Linked DNA regions of Homo sapiens: region 1 is linked to region 2. The links are contacts of gene promoters, found by promoter capture Hi-C in human tissues and cell types (Jung and others, 2019). All regions are on one chromosome and are shown on one strand. The core of a region is centred on a gene start or on the middle of the fragment in contact, and the rest is flanking DNA. Distances in the headings are between cores, read along the strand shown. Region 1 overlaps FLJ12825 (a long non-coding RNA gene). Region 2 holds the start of HOXC11 (homeobox C11).

Evidence for each region. Contacts are between HindIII fragments. The study calls those that stand out against the background at their distance.
Region 1: a contact is called between a fragment that was not itself captured here and the fragment with the promoter of HOXC11 in region 2, in 2 of the 25 tissues and cell types used here (H1 embryonic stem cells and thymus).

What each region holds. Positions count from the first base shown.
Region 1 is chr12:54,072,896-54,079,646 of GRCh38, forward strand. All of the region lies in intron 1 of FLJ12825 (a long non-coding RNA gene), which reads left to right. LOC100240735 (a long non-coding RNA gene) reads right to left here. Exons shown (of 3, transcript NR_026658.1): 3 at 5,944-6,545. Among named protein-coding and RNA genes, the nearest start is that of FLJ12825, 18 kb to the left of the region's middle. RefSeq lists a silencer at 6,650-6,751. The HindIII fragment of the contact is 4,817 bases long and covers 1,651-6,467 here.
Region 2 is chr12:53,968,248-53,975,234 of GRCh38, forward strand. It overlaps HOXC11 (homeobox C11), which reads left to right and starts at 4,879. Exons shown (of 2, transcript NM_014212.4): 1 at 4,879-5,676; 2 at 6,934-6,987. The coding sequence starts at 4,995. HOTAIR (HOX transcript antisense RNA) reads right to left here and starts at 6,707. Exons shown (of 7, transcript NR_186241.1): 1 at 6,651-6,707; 2 at 370-509. RefSeq lists an enhancer at 6,105-6,699. The HindIII fragment of the contact is 16,724 bases long and covers 1-6,987 here.

The sequences.
Region 1 (6,751 bases), core at 2,809-5,308, 100 kb after region 2:
GTTTCACCGTGTTAGCCAGGATGGTCTTGATCTCCTGACTTCGTGATCCGCCTGCCTCAGCCTCCCAGCGTGCTGGGATTACAGGCATGAGCCACTGCGCCCGGCGCATAATCTTTTTCTTACCTGAGTGAATCTTGTTTTTTCCCAACTTAATCTTATCTTTCAGGATCTGCCAATAAAAGAAGCAGAAAGAGTCCTGTACCCCTCCATGCAGCCTGGAAATTTTAGGTTTGGGCCAAAGTTGGCCTTACCCACAGACAGGATGGGTGGCTGCCTTCATGACAGGATTTAAGAAAAATCATAAACCATCCTCACCCAAATTTGTATTATGCCACCTGCCACATGGGTCTAAAATTCCATTATTATAGATATTTCCCCCGATCTGGGCAGTGGCTTCTGAAGACCCCTACGAAAAACACACAGTTGCCTGGGAGAATGTGCATGTCAACACATTGGTGAAAGTTTCCTAACCTGCAATCTAGCTTCTTCTTCAATAAAGAAGAATGGTCTGGAACTCAGGACAAGTAAATTTTGATAGGACTGGGGTTCTTAAAGGGCCAGAGCACAGGCCTCTTCCTTTCAGGAGGTACACATAGAATGTATGGACAGCAGAAAGACACCAAATGGGCGTGGGACCTACTAAGAATGTCCACTGGGCCATCTGTGATTTAGGGAGCTGAGACAATGAGACAATTCTAACTTTCAGTTCACCTTGATATTGACTCTACCTAGGTCTTGTACCTTCCAGCACAGACTTGCATCCTCCCAAGAGCAATGATGTACTTGGGCAAGAGGTAGAGAGGCGATACTAGTGTCTGAGTAGTCTGAGCAGCGACATCCAGGTCTCAGTGACTGAGACCAAGCAGCTCTGTCTCTGACCAACACAATCATGACAGCAGCTAAAGGTCTCCACTCTGGGTTGGGGTCAAGGAAATGAGCAACTAAGAGTGTGCTCTGCAGATCACTGGGACTCTAGAGGGTCTTTTAGTTGGTCCAAAAGTCCACCCAGAATCCGTCGTCCAAACACACGTGACTGGTTTGTGTTTTGTTTTTTGTTTTGTTTTGTTTTTGAGATAGTCTTGCTCTGTCGCCCAGGCTAGAGTGCAGTGGCGCAATCTTGCCTCACTGCAACCTCTGCCTCCCAGGTTCAAGCAATTCTCCTGCCTCAGCCTCCCTAGTAGCTGGGATTACAGGCACCTGCCACCGCGCCCAGCTAATTTTTGTATTTTTAGTAGAAATGGGGTTTCACCATCTTGGCCAGGCTGGTGTCGAACTCCTGACATCATGATCCACCTGCCTCGGCCTCCCAAAGTGCTGGGATTACAGGCGTGAGCCACCACGCCTGGCCTGGTTTGTGTTTTAATTGTAATCTCTGAGGAGATATAAATATATATTTGAAAGAGCAAAGAAATTAATATTTGAAAAAGTATAACTATTGTCATGGTTATTTACTAAGGAAAAAATGTGTGTGTGAATATTGAATATGTATGTATGTGTGTAAACACACACACGTATTCTTCCCTCCCTCCCTCCTTTCCTTCCTTCCTTTCTTTCCATTGACAAAAGAGGCCAATGAGATATGCGACAACTGGCATCTCTGCAATCTGACCAGAACAGCCTGAAGGCCACCAGAGTGGATGTTACATCTGCAGGACTGGCCGCTTTCCTACCAATGTTTTTCAACTCGGATGTTTTGGCATCATGGCAGCACACATCCTCTCTCTAATCCAGTCTGCACCTAAACCCTGTGTAGGCAGTTTCTGCCGTAAAAAGAGCAGCCCGATAAGTGAGAACTTGGTTCCTCCTACATTACCCTAAATATTGCTGTGATATCAGGGAAATAATATTAATACTTACAACAACTACAACCAAGTTGTAGGGCCTCAACTACTCCCCTCCCCAAACTTTCCTCCTCTGAATTATGAGAAAACTTCTTTAAGAAGGTTGGAAGGCCGGGCGCGGTGGCTCACGCCTGTAGTCCCAGCACTTTGGGAGGCCAAGGCGGGCGGATCACGAGGTCAGGAGATCGAGACCATCCTGGCTAACACGATGAAACCCTGTCTTTACTAAAAATACAAAAAATTAGCCGGGCGTGGTGGCAGGTGCCTGTAGTCCCAGGTACTCAGGAGGCTGAGGCAGGAGAATGGCGTGAACCCGGGAGGCGGAGCTTGCAGTGAGCTGAGATCACACCACTGCACTCCAGCCTGGGCGACAGAGTGAGACTCCATCTCAGAAAAAAAAAAAAAAAAAAAAAAAAAAAAAAAAAAAAAAAAGCAGGTTGGAAGAACTGGGAATGAGAGAGGAGAATTGGGAATGGGGGAGAATGTGTTAAGCAGGTGTAAAACATAGGAAGAGGGTCTGTAAACGCTCCATCTCTGAGAGGGGGGCTTTGTGGACGGGAGGAGAAGGAACTAAAGGGTGGTAATTAGCTTATTATTGTTTCCCTTGGGTGTTGTGAGAATTCCTTAGGAGACACTTGTAAAAAAGCAGAGGGAAGACAGTAAATACACATCTAATGATATGCTAAATAAATTATTATTGTTATTATTATGACTATAATAGCAATTGTAACTTGCTTCCTGCTCGAATTTCCACTAAAGATGGGAACTGACCCCCTTACTGCCAGGCCTCCACAGCTGTCAATAACCCCCAGCCCCCGCCTCCCCAGGAATCAGTCGAGTAATTGGGCAATATAGACTAGGCTTCAGTTAACAGCCGTTCTTCTGGTGTCTGCAGGAGAACCAAACAGGAGCTCAACATAAGCAGCAAGGCCTCTGCCAGGTACCTGCTCTAGCAAAGAAAAGAAGAAAAGGAACCTTGCCGAGAATCGTGGGGGTTATATTTAGGGAATAACTTCTTGATTTCCAAGCAAGAGAACTCAGGGAGGGCAAAAACTGAGGCAGGCATTTAGGGAGGGGGCGGGTCACAGAAACAAAGGGGAAATATACAAATTAGGGATACTCAGTCTAGAGATCATAGGCTTCTAGGACTCCTGCAACTATCAAGGGCACTTCCAGAATTTTGCTAGGAAGTGAGCCAATTGTTTTTGTCAGCTTCTCAAAGGGGTCTGGGACCCAGGAACAGCTAAGAGCCATTCCAGCCCAGGTAAAAGGGACCCAGGACTCTTTGGGGTTAATAATAGTGGCCAGTGTCTATTGGTTTCCTGCCTTTTGGCTAAGGACAAACCAATAGACACTGGCCACTACTGTAACCTGCTGTTTACAGCAACTGTCAGCAATCCCCCCCTCAACCCCCCTACTTCTAGCCAGAGCCCAGGCACCTGCCTTGAGCCCTTCTTAGGCAAATATATGTAAATGTAGGACCCTCAGTTCTCCCTCCCTGAATTTCTTTAGGGAAAGCAACAACCATCCCTGTAAGCCATAGGTATTCATGGGGAGGAAGGAGAGGGCTAGTTGTCTGAGAGGGAAACTGCCAAAGGCTGCAGACTAGGAAATGGGATTCCAGGTTTAAGATAGCTCCTTTCTGGACCTCAGTCCTTCACCTAGTCACCTAGTCACAGGGTGGATTGTCTCTAAGGATACTTAGGGGAAAAGGAACCAAATTCGGGAGGGTCCTCCTTGCTTTAAGCCTTGATGGGAGAGGGGGAGGCCAACCCTTCTCTGCAGACTGGGATCCTCACCAGACAGAGGAGCTCCAAACCTGCCCATCTCATCCCATGCACCGACGGTGCCTGGCCTGGCTCCAAACTCCCAAAAGGAACTATTTTACAGGGACCAAAAAGGGGACACTGGTGATAATAATAATAAAAAAAAAAATGAAACAATCTGATTGCGGCATTACTGGATCAGAAAATGTGTGACCTTTTTAAAGTTAAATTGTTAAAAATTTTTAACTATTAAACATTTTAAATATTAAGCCTGATCTGTTTGGTAGCCCTGGAGCAGGGCTGAGGCATAGAGAGAAACCTTTCCTTCAGCCAGGTTGTCTGTCTCGCACTGATTTATTTTTGTTTTATTTGTGGATTTCTTAATGGACCCAATGGTGGTTCCTCTTTGCACCCCTCGGATTGACAGGCAATTCCTTCCTAGCCCAGGTCTCAGCTCTGGTTTAGTTTTCATAACTTGGGGGTCCAGGGAGCCAGGAGACTGGAGATAGAAAGCAGAAGTGCACTGGGGTGGTGGGTCTGCCTTGGCTTACCCCCAAATTTCCAGATTCCAGGTGCCTTGCTCCAGTACCCGCCCCATCCTAGGCTCAGGATGCTCTCCCACCCTACTAACCACCGGTCCGGTCAAAGCCCAAGCTGCTGCCAGCCGCCATGTTATCTCCCAGCCTGGCTAGGGTGCCTGCTAGCCTGCAGTGGCTATGGTGGTGTGCAGAGGGAGGGTGAGTTTTTATATTGACTGCCATTCCGTTTACCTCAAGAAGTATGTTTGGGCAACCATTCTGTGCCAGACAGCAGACAGAGTCCCTGCACTGCAGGAATTCCTAGTCCCGTGGGCAGGGGTGTGTGGAGGGTGGCACATGGTGGTTAGCCTGGTCCAAGGGTCTCCACTCCCTTCCTAGCATCCTAGAGATCCTGGAGGCCAGGTTGGCCACGGAGACTGAGTTCAGGATAATTCCTTCACACATTCAACGAAGTTATCTGTAACTCCCTGTTTAAAAACAACAACAACAACAACAACAAAAAACCACAAAAACTGGCAGTCGTGGGAGGTATTTCCCCACTGGGCTGGTTGGCAGCAGGGGAAGAATTGGGGACCCCTGGCCCAGCGGTGCCTGGAAGGAGGCTGATGTAAGAGTGGTGTAGCTGTGAGTGGGAGAAGTGAGATCTAGTGGGGTAAGTCCACGTTCCCTGTTCCTAAACTCAAATTCTCCCTGAAAAGACCCAGGGCAGCACTGTTAGGGAGCTGAAGGAGTCCCTCTGTGCCCAGAGGGAATTAGGCCACTCAGGCCTCAGAGAAGGAGGGCGGGTGGTGAGGACAACCTCCCCAAGCCCCCATCAGAGCAGGCCCAATACTTGCAAATTCACTCCTCAGTCCACTAGATTCTGGTCCCATCCTACATCCCCGCCAAGGCACAGGAGGCCCAGATAAAAACAAGCTTTATTTGGCCAAATTAACTCACTTTCCTGGATTACCTCACTTATCGGAAAGTGAAAGTACACCCCACGCTCCTCGCCCTGTCCCTGCCTAAACCTCTTTATCTCTGAAGCCCACTCTTTGAGACCTAAAAATTAGGGTTCAACAGAAACGCTCTAGGACTACAGGAGGGACACGACAGTCCCTATCCTACAGCGCACTAAAAGCCAAACTGAAGGCTGCTTCCTCGGTGGAGAGTGTCTCAGGGTGAGGTGGTGGGACTGTTCGCCGCTTCCCATTTTACAAGCTCCTTGTCCACAGCCGTCTGCGCCAGCCCCTCACAAAACCGGTTCTCGCCTTCTGGTGGGTGCTGGTGTTTACCCCTTTCCTCCCACTATCTGTTCAAACCCAGCCCACCCACCCTCCATTCACCTCCCCTCCTTAAGGCTCCCTGAGCTCTATTTACCCTTTTGTAACTCCATCCCTCCATAAGTACACAACTCTCCTAGCTGGTTTCCTAGAGGGCAGATACAGTGTTTCCAGTTGGCCCTCTGCAGATATCTGTGAACAAGTCTCTCCCATCCCCTACATATAAAGATGTCTGTTCTAGACAAACGGGCCTAAGTCCCAACGTAAAAACATCACAAGATAATTACACCTTATATACATACAGATCTCTCTATAGAGTTATATTTGAAAGTGTCTATAACTCTAGAGAGAGATTGCAGCATGCACATATAGGACTATAATTATTTATGTCTATTTTTATAACTATGTAGTTATAAATAGATATGCCTATATATAGTGATAATAATATAGAAATATCTCCATAGCCATATATGGCTCTAAGTGAATGCTCTAACTACTCTATTTCACAATCAATAAGTATATATCTCCTGATACATAATTCTAACAATATACGTTTTTATCTATATAGCTGTTCAGAGATATAAATCTGTCAGGATATCACATGTACATAAAGCCGGATGGCTGTAAGAGAGTCGTATATTTTCCCATATATAAATCTGCTCCTATAACTACTGTATATGCACAAATACAATGGAAATAATTATATTTCCCTCAAACATAAATCTGTAAATACAACCACAGCACATTTAGGTACGGTTAGACATAGAGCAATATTTCCTAGACATCAGTCTGTCAATAGAGCCACCAGTGCCTCCAAACAGAGAGTTATAGAGGGAGTTATAAATAAACTCTCCAGATGGGAACCGGTCAGTAGAACTAGATGTAAACATGACTCCAAGCTGTTCTTTCTTCTTCTTCTTCTTCTTCTTTGTAAGATATTCCTGAAGCAAGCCCAGTCATATAACAGGGTGCAGAGGTGTCTGGGTACTGGTATTTTTCCCCCCAGGAGGGTCGGATGTCGCTGGACTTTGGGAAACCGAGCAGGAGTAGATAGGGGACAGTGCCCGCTCCCAACGCAGCCCAGAAGTCCCTTCCTTCTGTCTCCTGGTGGCTGAGAGCTCGGGCAAGTGGAGAGGCCTAAGGGAGAAAAATGAAAAAGCAGAGTCTGGCTTGAGTCGTTTGGCCCTTCGGCCTAAAACCCTCTCAACAGGGAAGCCCCGACCAGGCGTCGGAGCGGAGAGAGCCCACGAGGCCCAGAGGCTGGGGGAAAGGGGCTGCAGGCCAGGCTGCGGAGGCCGAGCGGAGTCCCCAGCCGGTGCCTGATCGCCCGGCGCCCCATCGCC
Region 2 (6,987 bases), core at 3,629-6,128:
GAGTGTACACAAATGTGTGCACTCTCATAAAATGACCCAAAGAAACCCCTGGGGCCTGCGGGCAGGCACCGGCTGCACAAACACCCCACAGAGCCAGCCCCATGTCTCCTGAGCCTCGCTAATGCACGATCCATACCCGGAGATAAAAGTCTAGACAATAGATGGCTGTTTATGACAACGAGGCTCTCCAAGTTTGGGGCCAGGCGATAAATCTCTGGCGAATCTTCCTGTAACTCAACTTCTGACTGTAGTGAGGAGAAAACCACTGAGCCCGCCGAAAGGAAAGCAGCAAAATGGGGGAGACTTGTAAATCCTGAGCAGAAGGCACTTTCCTTGCTGGGGCAAGGAGGCATAGGCCACAACACTCACCCCACGGAGCAGTCCTCACTGTGGAAGCTTTCGGATCAAGCTCCAGAGCACAGGCGAGTCAGAGTTCCCCACTGCCTGCCTAGGCTTCCAGGTTCCGGAAATCAGGGCAGAATGTGCAGGCAGAAGGCAGGGCCTGGAGGCTGGAACAGATCCCAAACAAATGATTCTTGCTGGGGGCAAAAGATTTTTTTTTGTTTTTGTTTTTGGTGACTGGAATCTTTTTGCTTTGTGTCACCTGAAGTTTTTCACCCCATGCCTTCCCACCCCTCTCTTTTCTTTTTCCTTTTGGATTGATTAGCTGTTTGTTCCCTTTTGCATTTTCGACCCAGGCATCTGATCGCTAATAAAGAGTTGCTGAAGTTGATCTCATAAAAATGCCGCGAGCTCACTTTGATCAGGAGGACTAGGTCCGAGCCTTAATGTAGGAGCTAAAGCCAGAGAATCAGGGCTCCGGCCAACCCGCCTCTGCTCTGTGGTGAGGCGGGAGATCTGGGTGGCCCAACAGGGCAATCCCACCCAGAAAAGGTATTTTCTGTGCCACTACAACTGGCTTAGGAAACTGAAGCCCAATAGCAGCGGCTCCATTTCCAGCCTGCTTTTAAGACATTTCCTTCATTTTGGAGCATTTGGTGAGGGGGCCAGTGAAACCGGCTCGTAAAATAGGGCTTTTATGGGAAGAAATAGGGTCGGGTTGCTAGCATCCTGGGACAATCTCTCCACAGAGGAAGCTGGGTGGGGCCTGTGGGGGCAAAGGAGCTGTCCTTCTCCCTCCCCACTACCTCCTCCATAGGTCCCAGGAACCTCTGAGCAGCGTCCACCAGCTTAGGTGGCCTGACTTGGGGACTCAGGCTTGGGGCAATGGCCAAGTCTGAGAAGAGGTGGAAGCCAGGAACTAGCAGTCCCACCCGCTTCTTGTTCCCTGGCTGGGGCTGGGGTGTCCCGGGTGCAAGATAAACCACTGACCTGAAAATCCCAAAGCATACTAAAGGGATTATTGCAGGCAGTGATATTACTGTAAGGGAGAGAAATATAGGCAAGAAGGTGAAAGCCAATTTCTAATGAAGTCTCCTTGCTGGCCCAGCCTGTGAACAAACGAGAGCGTCCATGTGTGGGACTCTCTCCGCTTATCTTTTTATTGACTCCACACAGGCTGAATTTACAATCCAAGCCCACTGGAGCATATGTGGGCCCCATTTCTTCTTTCAGCATTTTCCTCCCCAGTTCATGGTCTGTGGGATGGGCTCCTTTCCCTACCACGATCTGCTCTCTAGAACCCAGAGCAGTGGAGGAGGTAGACAAGCTAACAGGAGGCCCCAACGCTGTGTGCGGGAGTTTGCTCTGGGAGCCGCCCAGGGTAGAATTTAGGAGACACTGTCCCCTTCTTAAGCTGCCCCTGTTGTCCGTGTGTTGGAGGGAAGGGTGCTGGAGTCTGCCTTAACTTTGGTCCAGCTACCTGGACAGCTGCCCAGACCGCAGCCGCCTGCTAGCAGCCAGGCTGGCTGATGGCGCTGACTGAGGACACCAAGAGCCAGTGGGGAGGGCCGGATGGCCCTGCTGCAGAGAATTTCAGGTGAAGGCCAGGACTCAAAGCAGATGGAGGGGTCACAGGCACCCACCAGATAAGATACAAATAAGCCACCTGGAGCGGGCTTGACAAGGAAGGGATTGGGGGCCAGGGATGGCTCCTGTACAGGGAGGTATTGATGCTGTGGCCAGAATCCACAGGCTGAGAGGGTGCAGCCTAGGGCAAACATCTCAGCTGAAGCGTCCAGGTAGCCTGGACCCAGGGCTGGGCAGGGAGGCTACTCCAGACCATGGGCATTTTTGCCAGTAAATGTCTAGCTGACCTCAGTGGCCAGGGCCTTCTTTCCTTGACCGTAGCAGCAACTGACAGTTGCTAGAGGTTTTTTGATTTGTTGAAAAACTAAGCCATATCAACACTAGAGAACATTTTAAACTTTATGCCTTACTTTTAAGGGGAGGAATATTACTTTCCAGAAGTCTCTGTTGGGAGACCCCAGCGTTTCCTAGACATCAACTCTTTGACATTCTTTCTTGCATTTCTTTTTTGTTTCAAGGAAATAGGGCCGCCAGCAGCTCCTTGTTGCCGCCTGGCTCACTTTTATGGTGGCCCAGGAATAAACTTTGGTGGTCAAATTCAAGTGCTCAGTCCAGCAGCTGTCTCCTCACAGGATACAGCCCCTACCCCCATCTCAGTCCTGGCTTTGCTGAATCTGCCTTGGGGGATTGGGCCCCACATCACCCTGGAGGGCCAGGAGGGGGAAGGAAGCAGAGCCTTGGGTGGAAGTGGAGAAAGCGGGATCTGAGACTCGAGCCCTCATCCACACCTCTGCAAGGATAGGGGTACCTCTCGCTTCCCTCTTGCTGGTTCCTATCACTGTTTGGGCAGCATTTTGCCTTCAATAAACTCGAGTTTAATGAGGTCAGTGTGAACCCCATTAAAAGCCATAGTCCATAGTTCCCCACCACTATAATTAAAAATGCTGGCCCCATCTCACTCTATAAAAAGGGCTAGAGGAAAAAGGAAACACAGCAGATTTTTCTTTTCATGGCCCCTTACCAACAGAAGTCTCACACTTCAGCAAAGCCCCAATCTAGTTCTTCTTTGCTTCAGTTTAAGATCTGACCAGAACTAAAGGAGTAGCGCCCAGCATTGAGTGCGTAGAGGGGCACCTGAGACCTATCCCTGAGTATTCCAGAACCACCCTGAGAATGGGACCCATGGTGGAGGCAGACTCCACTCAGGTGTCACTTAAATGCTGAGCAAGTTTGAGGAGGCAGGAGCATTGAGGAGGAATGGATTTTAGGGGTTACATATGGAGACAAGCTACAATTTTTTGTGTCCTCCTTATCTGGTTTGGGAGCCGCAGCACCTTATCATGTTTCATCAAGACAAATCCATTCTAATTTCTTTAAGTGGAAACTAATTTTAACTGAGGGTTATGGATGTAAAGAGAGTTCGGGCTATTTTTTGTTTTCCCCTGAGTGTGCATTGGGCTGAGCCCTTGGGGGCTTCGGTTCTTCCCCTCCTTCCCAAACAAATTGTGCCCTGGCAGCTCCTCTTTGGATCCAAGGTTGCTTTCAGCTCATGCTGGTTGCTTTTGGCCCCTTGGACCCAGTCCAGAACCTTTCAATAAAGTGATTTTCAGATGCCCACATGTGTCCTGTGGTGCTCAGAGGGATGGAAGGCAAGGGGTTGGGGATGCAGAATGACTGAGCCTACTTCTTGGGCTACAGCTATCCAGGAGGCTGACAGACTTGTAGGAGGGCAGGACAGGGCTGAGAAATAGGAAGGAGGCACTAAGATCTGGTCACAGCCCCAGGGACAGAGGCTGGGGGCTTTGACTAGGGAGTGGCCGCTGGGCCTCCCCTGATGCCACAGCATCCACCGCTCCTTTCCACTGTCTGGTTAGTCTCTTCTGGAGACCCATACCTGGCCCCACCACCCACCTTACAGTCCTCAAAATCATCCAAGGATAAGAACCCCAAACCTAGTCCCCCCCACCATATTCTTCCTGGACCCCTACACTAGGCTTCTTTTCAGCGCACTAGCTGAGGCTGAGCCACTAAGCCAAAGGGCCCTGACATAGAAGATACATGGCTCTCATTCCAATCCTTTTCTTTGGGGTTTGGGATTTGAAAATCCACAGTGGATGTAGCTTTCTTCACATTGATTGACAATAAAGGCAGGCATGAAATATTCACCCAGGGCCACTCTCTCATACTAAATATTTAACACAACATTAGAGAAGGTTTTTCCCAGACTTCGCCAGGCACCGGCTGGGCGGCTGGCGCACTGCTCACCACTCGTTTATGACTAATCTGACTCCCTAGCCAGGGGCAGCACAGCAAGCCAGACAAAGTTGGGACACTGGCTTGCAGCTGGGCTGCCTCACCTTTGGGAAACTTCAGATACTCTTCCGGGAGTCTCTCTAAGGACTCCAGAAAGGTAGTCTTGACACCCAGCTCTGGCCAGGAAAAGAGTGGACTTCTTCAAACTCTTGTGAACAGGCGGTGTCTCTGCGGGTTGGAAGGGTAAGAGTCCCTGAGATTTAAGGGAAAGGATTCACTTCTCTGGGGAAATCAGGCAGTGGGGAAAGAAGTCCTCACTCCCACCCTCCTGGTGCTGCTCACAGAGAGGAGGCAAGACCCCCATACATGAGAGCCCTCCTCCTTCCCCCAATCCTGGGGGAAAAAAGAGCAGCAGCTAGAAAAAAATACAATTACCCCTTCCCAGCCACCACCCTCGCCCATCCCACCGCCCACCCCACCCCAACCCTCTCTCTCCTCCTTTGCTCGTGCTGTGGTATGGAGAGAAGGGGAGTGACGAGAGAAAAACGAATACAAATCTGCAATTGATTTTCATAATGTTTCTGCGGTGTTTGCAAACCAATCGCCTGAACGTCCCCGATCTTACCTAAGAGAGAACCCCTCCTACGTCTGCGAAGTGCTCCGAACTGATATATGACAATATCTACTTTGGATCACGTGCTCAGAGAGAGAGAGACTAAGACGGATAACGCGTCATCTCGCCTTCCCAAATTTTCCCCCCTCGCTAGACCGGGTCCAAAACCTCCATCCGGAGCCGGCAGGAGAGGAGAACGATGTTTAACTCGGTCAACCTGGGCAACTTCTGCTCTCCGTCGCGCAAGGAGAGGGGCGCAGATTTCGGCGAGCGAGGGAGCTGCGCCTCCAACCTCTATCTGCCCAGTTGCACTTACTACATGCCCGAGTTCTCCACGGTCTCCTCCTTCCTGCCCCAGGCCCCCTCTCGTCAGATCTCCTATCCCTACTCGGCCCAAGTGCCCCCGGTCCGGGAGGTCTCCTACGGCCTGGAGCCATCCGGCAAGTGGCACCATCGGAACAGCTACTCCTCCTGCTATGCGGCGGCCGACGAGCTTATGCACCGGGAGTGCCTGCCTCCTTCCACCGTCACCGAGATCCTCATGAAAAACGAAGGCTCCTACGGCGGCCACCACCACCCCAGCGCCCCGCACGCAACCCCCGCCGGCTTCTACTCCTCAGTCAACAAGAACAGCGTCCTGCCTCAAGCCTTCGACCGTTTCTTCGACAACGCCTACTGCGGTGGCGGCGACCCGCCCGCCGAGCCCCCCTGCTCCGGCAAGGGCGAGGCCAAGGGGGAGCCCGAGGCACCCCCGGCCTCGGGACTGGCGTCCCGGGCTGAGGCGGGTGCCGAGGCGGAGGCTGAGGAGGAGAACACAAATCCCAGCTCGTCCGGTTCAGCCCACTCCGTGGCCAAGGAGCCGGCCAAAGGAGCCGCCCCCAGTAGGTAGCAGCGGCCGGGGAACGGGCGGGCAGCGAGGGAGGGAGCGAGAGAGGGAGGGCGAGAGAAGGGGGGAGGCAAGGGGAGCGGGGACGGCCTCGTGTTTTGGGTCAGTCCGATTTTATGTGGAGTTTTATAAGCATTCAAAGGATTTTATTATAACCTACAAAGCCCTCTCTCCCAACGACTCGACTTTTTACGATGGAGAAGGGGTGGGGAGGGAGGGAAAAGGGCTCTTTGGAAAAGCCGGGTGAACCCCCCTCCCCCGTTATCTCCCTCGGTCTGTGAAATTTTTAAAAGCGCAACCATTGCGGGCGATATTAACTTTGATCGTGAACTTAGAGGAGCATTTAAGGAAGTATGGGGAGCCGGGCTGCCGAGGAGTGGGGAGGAGGGGAGGGGTGGAGGGGGAGAAAGGGGAGGGCGAGGGAAAGACAGGGAGAGATCCAGAGAGGGGGAGAGGTGGGGGAGAGGAGCAATGGAGCAGAACCTGAGACCGGAGAGGCAAGCCAGGACCGCTATGATCCTTCTTAAAACTAGTTTTGAAAATGTTCAAACTATGTGTTCGCGGGTCCTCGAGCAGAAACCCAAGCAACTCTGGGGTCAGCGGCGACAGGGGAATGGGGCGAGGCGGCGCAGGACTCCACTGCGTTCCAGGCGGGGGTCTGGGCGTTTCTCCCGGGTCCGCGGCCTTAGTGCTTGCCTAGAACTGCGGTGTGGAAGGCGCTGCCCCGCGGGCTTCCCGGGGCGCCAGGGCCCCGGAAGCGGCTCTCTGGTGTCTCGGTGCCTGCTGGCCGGCTTCCTCCCCGCCTCCCGACTGCTCTCGCCAGATTTCACTGCTTCGCGCCTGTTCTCAGCTTTCCCCCCAGATTTCTGGGGGAGGGGTTGGGCTTTCCGAACCACTAGGAGGGCGGCCCAGGAAGGGCCCGAGGGCGGAGGGGGAGCAGACAGGGGGCCCGAGGGGACGCACGTGTACCTGGAGGGCTTTCCTTCTGTCCCAGACCCTGTCAGCCGCGGCTCTCGCCTGAGAACTGGGGACGGGGTGGCGCAGTGGCGGGGGGGTGGGGACCCGCTAGACCTGGCAGGGGGTCGAGGCTTGCCCGGGTGCTGCGGCTGCAGGAGAGCCAGCCGCCTGGCGGGAGGGCTGCCCGCGGTGGGCTAGGAGAAGGGCCGCTGAGCGCTCAGCGGGCTGGGGTCGCCCGGGTCTCACGTGTCTCTCTCCCCCCTCTCCTCGCACTTGCCCCCTCCCCTCCCTCCAGACGCCCCCCGCACCCGCAAGAAGCGCTGCCCTTATTCGAAATTCCAGATCCGGG